Regions from separate parts of the Homo sapiens genome. Here region 1 is linked to region 2. Evidence: promoter capture Hi-C in human tissues and cell types (Jung and others, 2019). All regions are on one chromosome and are shown on one strand. The core of a region is centred on a gene start or on the middle of the fragment in contact, and the rest is flanking DNA. Distances in the headings are between cores, read along the strand shown. Region 1 holds the start of EGFL7 (EGF like domain multiple 7). Region 2 overlaps CCDC183 (coiled-coil domain containing 183).

Evidence for each region. The method cuts DNA at HindIII sites, captures the fragments that hold promoters and counts their contacts. A contact is called where the count stands out against the background at its distance.
Region 1: a contact is called between the fragment with the promoter of EGFL7 here and a fragment that was not itself captured in region 2, in 2 of the 25 tissues and cell types used here (lymphoblastoid cells and mesenchymal stem cells).

The regions. Positions count from the first base shown.
Region 1 is chr9:136,661,599-136,664,298 of GRCh38, forward strand. EGFL7 (EGF like domain multiple 7) reads left to right here and starts at 1,318. Exons shown (of 11, transcript NM_016215.5): 1 at 1,318-1,510; 2 at 1,810-2,025. The HindIII fragment of the contact is 17,984 bases long and covers 1-2,700 here.
Region 2 is chr9:136,802,106-136,804,805 of GRCh38, forward strand. CCDC183 (coiled-coil domain containing 183) reads left to right here. Exons shown (of 14, transcript NM_001039374.5): 6 at 559-681; 7 at 2,397-2,522; 8 at 2,657-2,700. It overlaps CCDC183-AS1 (CCDC183 antisense RNA 1), which reads right to left. Exons shown (of 5, transcript NR_024580.1): 5 at 1,822-2,700. Among named protein-coding and RNA genes, the nearest start is that of RABL6, 4.5 kb to the right of the region's middle. The HindIII fragment of the contact is 7,702 bases long and covers 1-2,700 here.

The DNA of each region.
Region 1 (2,700 bases), core at 68-2,567, 140 kb before region 2:
GTGAGGTCCTGCCTGGCTGAGGCCCTGAGCCCTGACCACAGCCTGGCGCCCAGAGCAGACCCTTCCCCTGGCCGTGGGTAGAGGGGAGCTGGTTCCTGCTTGAGGGGGAGGCGCATCGCGTGTGGGTGAGGTTTCCACCTGCCCTCCAAAGTCCCGTGGGGAATTTCCCCAGCTGCCCCAGCCTCCCTTGGCTCAAGTTGCCCAGCTGAGTGGGGCTGGAGAGGTGGGGGCACACTGACCGCCCAGGGCCAGGGAAATGGGGGTGTCCCAGGCATCAGGCCGACAGGGGCTGACCCCAAAGCAGGGCTCACACCCCACGGACAGCGGGGTTGGGAGAGGCCCTGCTCTCCTGGGGTTCCAGGCGTGCCCTCCAAAGCCACCCAGCTCCCTTCGGCACCGTGTCCCCTCCCACCCAGCCCACCTTTGCCACAGTGGCTCGCTCGGCCTGAGGCTCCCACTGCCGTGTGAACAGGGAAGATGAGGGTCAGACCTGGAGGCTGGGACGCCGGGAATCTGACAGAGCACCCCCTGTGATCACCCACAGTGTCCCGCATCCCTCCCCACACCCCCGGCCGCAGCCTGCTGCCAGCCCAGAGCACCCCTGTGAAGTGGGGCTGAGGGCATTGGGCCTGCTTGCCCATCTCCAGGGCAGGGGCTCACAGCCTCACTGGCAGCTCTTTTAGGGGAGAGAGCTTGGACTCCATGCTTGTCCCCTCCCGTCACCCCCTCACCATGGGCCTCAGGGACCCACGGAACAGGCTGTTCTCGGACCGCTCAGCCTGTCTTGCCACCCCAGTCCCTTCCTGCCGGGCCTCGCCACTCGCCATCCCTCACTGGTCAAGGCTCCTGTGTGGCTGGTCCCTGCCTTGGCCTGGGGCCCCTCCAAGCTCCCGTGCTGTGTCACACACATCTGGGGGTGTCCTGGGGGAGGGCCCAGCATCCTTGGCCCAAAGATGCAGCAGCTCCCTTCTGTCCAGCCACACGTGAGCATGGCCTGTGAACCCACGGTCCTGGGAGGGCCCTGGGCTTGCGTCCTCCACCCCACACTCTCCCCAGGGTCTCCAGCAGGGTCCAGCCCTGGTTTCTGGCTGTTTTGGGGCTAGACTCTGATGGCCCAGGGGACGGCTTCCCCACCCCTGGGCAGTTTGTCCAGGCCCCCTCACACGGTGGCCCCCACCCCCCTCAGCCTCCTGTTTGTCCGACGACACGTCCCCGTTATCAGCGGAGAACACACACAGGAAGTCCGGCTGGGAAGGGCCCATCCCAATCCCGATTACCCAGGACGGAGCATAAAAAGCCGCCCTTCCTCGCCCGGGGGGAGCCTCCCTGCACCAAGCTGGCCCTGCACGGCTGCAAGGGAGGCTCCTGTGGACAGGCCAGGCAGGTGGGCCTCAGGAGGTGCCTCCAGGCGGCCAGTGGGCCTGAGGCCCCAGCAAGGGCTAGGGTCCATCTCCAGTCCCAGGACACAGCAGCGGCCACCATGGCCACGCCTGGGCTCCAGCAGCATCAGGTATGGCAGGGGTGGCCTCGGAGGGGCAGGGAGCGGACAGGGCGGGCCCCCCATTCCCCTCACTCCCGCTGACCGTGGCGCCTGCTGGCTGCTCCGCAATCTGCTCCCCAGCGAGGTCACAGGGGAGGGGTCCCAGTCTCCTCCCCTTCTGCACAGAGGAGGCCACTGAGGCCCCTTGGCCAAACGCCTGCTAGTGGGTGGCCCAGCGTAGATCCCAATCCAGTCTGCTGACTCCAACACTTCACCCCCAGTCGCCCTTCCCCTGAACCCCACCCTCTGGCCTTTCTCTCCCTCCGCAGAGCAGCCCCTGTGGTTGGCAGCAAAGTTCAGCTTGGCTGGGCCCGCTGTGAGGGGCTTCGCGCTACGCCCTGCGGTGTCCCGAGGGCTGAGGTCTCCTCATCTTCTCCCTAGCAGTGGATGAGCAACCCAACGGGGGCCCGGGGAGGGGAACTGGCCCCGAGGGAGAGGAACCCCAAAGCCACATCTGTAGCCAGGATGAGCAGTGTGAATCCAGGGTGCGGGACGTGGGGCTCGGGCTTAGGGATGACTTGCTGGGTGCGGTGGGCAAATGGGTGACTCTGTGGGCCCCCCTTGGACCCTGGAGACGCCCTTGTTCTCCCTCTCCCCAGCCTCATGCAGAGTGGCTGAAGCCCCATCCCAAAGCCCCCAAAACCACAGTGGGTCCTAGAAGGCCCCACTTTTTGTCTCATACGTCCACACCAAGAAGCCTGTCTGAGAACCCCCACTTTCCAAATGGTGCCTAGCCAGGATGGGGGCAGCGAGGGCTGAGTCGGGGCAGCCCTGGAGCTGCCCTTTCTGCTCCATCGCCTCTTCCAGACTCAGGCAGGAGAGGTGGGGAGGCAGGTCAAAGGGTTAAGTGACCGCAGATCCAGAGATGAGGCCAGGGGCAGGGGACAGGGAGGGTGGCGGTGGCTCTCCCACCCAGAGGCCCCCTAGGCCCCACTCTGAACACTTCACTGCTGGGGGCTAGGTAAGAGCTGCCCTGCGTGGGCTCAGGGCGCCAGGAGGCCTAGGACTCCCCAGTCAGATGAGGAACGCCCCCTGACAGCAGCTGCTCTGGTCGTCCCTTGGACCACGTGCCAGGGGCTTCCAGGGCCCCTGGTCCAGAGCAGTGGCCACTGGATTGCAGGGTGGGGCGGCCTCATTTTGGGGACTCCTCTCCAGGGACC
Region 2 (2,700 bases), core at 183-2,682:
AAACAAACCACTATAGCAAAGCTATCCTGAGCACGTATGTACCTGGTTCTGGGCTAAATAATTCCTTTTACACTCAATTCATCCTGATGGCAACCTTCTGAACGAGCCATCATCTTACAAATGGGGACACAGAGAGATTAAGTAACTTTCCCAATGTCACACAGCTAAACTAGCTGGTCAGAAGCTGCCTTGGCCTTGAATCCTGACTCTCTGACCCCAAGCCCATGTCTTGAGCCCCTCTGTTTCACTTCAAAGCAGAACTGTCCCCAAACCTCCCCGGGTTTCAGTCAGCCTTTTCTGCAGAGCATTTCATCACAAACTCTCTCAGTCTCTCTGGGTTGTTGGACCCTAGGTGGTGAAAGAGTCCACCAGGCCAGCACTGTCCACTCCCTGTGAAACACCTTTCATCACCGTTGTGCCCAGCGGGGAGTGGGGGAGGTGGCTGGGGCCACAGAGGAGAACCTATCACTGTTCTCAGGGCTCTTAGTCGGGGGATAAAAGCTCGGGGCAACTGCAGCCCACTCTGTAGGGGCCACAAGAGAACCCCATTCAACACAGGTGCTGGCAGGATACCCCATTGAGCTGGACAAGCTGCAGAACCTCGTGGTCAACTACTGCTCAGAGCTGTCGGATATGAAGATCATGTCCCAAGATGCCATGATGATCACGGATGAGGTCAAGGTGAGCTCAGGGCCCAGGGCTGGGGGCCCCCCAGGGCCAGCCCTCTTGGATCTTCGGATGGGGTCAAGGTGAGCTCAGGGCCCAGGGCTGGGGGCCCCCCAGGGCCAGCCCTCTTGGATCTTCGGATGGGGTCAAGGTGAGCTCAGGGCCCAGGGCCGGGGGCCCCCCAGGGCCAGCCCTCTTGGATCTTCGGATGGGGTCAAGGTGAGCTCAGGGCCCAGGGCTGGGGGCCCCCCAGGGCCAGCCCTCTTGGATCTTCGGATGGGGTCAAGGTGAGCTCAGGGCCCAGGGCCGGGGGCCCCCCAGGGCCAGCCCTCTTGGATCTTCGGATGGGGTCAAGGTGAGCTCAGGGCCCAGGGCTGGGGCCCCCCAGGGCCAGCCCTCTTGGATCTTCGGATGGGGTCAAGGTGAGCTCAGGGCCCAGGGCTGGGGGCCCCCCAGGGCCAGCCCTCTTGGATCTTCGGATGGGGTCAAGGTGAGCTCAGGGCCCAGGGCTGGGGCCCCCCAGGGCGGGCTCTCTTGTGTCTTCTGGCCAGGGTCTCTCAGGAGACCCCCATGCCCACACTGCCTACAATCCCCAGAAGGATCCAGTGGCCAGCCCGGCCAGCCTGCTCTGCTCACCCACTGGACAGAGCAGGTCCCATCCAGCACAGGAGCCATGAAGTAGAGGAGAGGGAGAGAACTGGCCGGGCCAGGGCGGGGGTCACCTATTCACCCAGTCTGTGCCAAGGTCCCTGCAAGGCTCTGGGGATACAGCAGGGACCGGGACAGGCAGACCCTGTCCTCCTGAAGTGGGTGGCACTCATCCAGTAGTCCATGAAGAAATGCCACACAGCCCCTGAGCCAGCTCAGCAGAGACAGGTGGGGTGGCAGATGGCTTTCCAGGAAGACAGTGCTTGAGCTGGGCTGAGGGATTGAACCCGCAAAGGTCAGGTGTGGCCAGGGCTAGGGAGGAGGAGGTACAACTTGGGAAAAGGCCCTGGGCTGGGAGGGGTGTGATACATGGAGCAGCGTGTGGCCAGGGCAGTGGAGGCTGCAGAGGCACAGGCCCCAGGAGTCCACGGAGGCGGCTGGGCTGGGGGCCCAAGGACTGACCTGGAGCCCTGGGAGGAGGTGGAGGAAAGATGTGACCAGGTCTGTGCTTCAGAAAGGGTGTACTCAGGCTGCAGGGACTGGAAGGTGCCAGGGCAGAAGCGCTGATCACCTGGGTATACCCGGGGTGGAGAAGGGGTGGCCAGGAGCAACGGAGCTGAGAACTCCTCAAGAGGCAACCCCACTAAGCGCTGGCAACGAGAGTGGCGAGGGTGAGAGCAGTGTCTGGGGTGCGTGAGCAGGGGTTAGCAGATGACGGTTTTAGCTGCCCAAGGGCACGCTGGAAGAGGCCAGGTTTTGGGGAAGAGGATGAATCTGTCTTCAGGCAGGCTGAATGCACTTCCGTGAGTTCTAGGTGGACCTGGCCAGGAGGCAGCTGGGGGCCAGCGGCTGGAGGGCAGCAGAGCGTCTGGGCTGGCACATGCTCTGAGGCATGGGCAAGGAGGGCCGTGAGCTGAGGGGCCACGGGCACAAGTGGTTTAGGAAAAGGGTGTGGCCATTGGCCGGGGATGCAGTTCCAAAGTCTAGTAAGGTGAGCATGGCCAACCGCCCGCTGGCTTTACTGCCATTAGGGGCCTTGTTGAGACAGCTCCCCAACCCTGTGCCCACCCGCATGTCCCCAGAGGAACATGAGGCAAAGGGAGGCGTCCTTCATCGAGGAGCGCCGGGCAAGGGAGAACCGGCTCAACCAGCAGAAGAAGCTGATCGACAAGATCCACACGAAGGAGACCAGCGAGAAGTACCGCCGGGTAAGCCCCAGGCCAGGGCCTGGCTGGCTGCCCATCCCCATGACAGCTGGGTGGACACAGGCTCAGGGCCACCACTCAGGGCCCACTCCCTGCCAAGGATGTCTCATCCCTTCCCCGCCCCCACCTCCCATCAGGGCCAGATGGACTTGGACTTCCCCTCGAACCTGATGAGCACGGA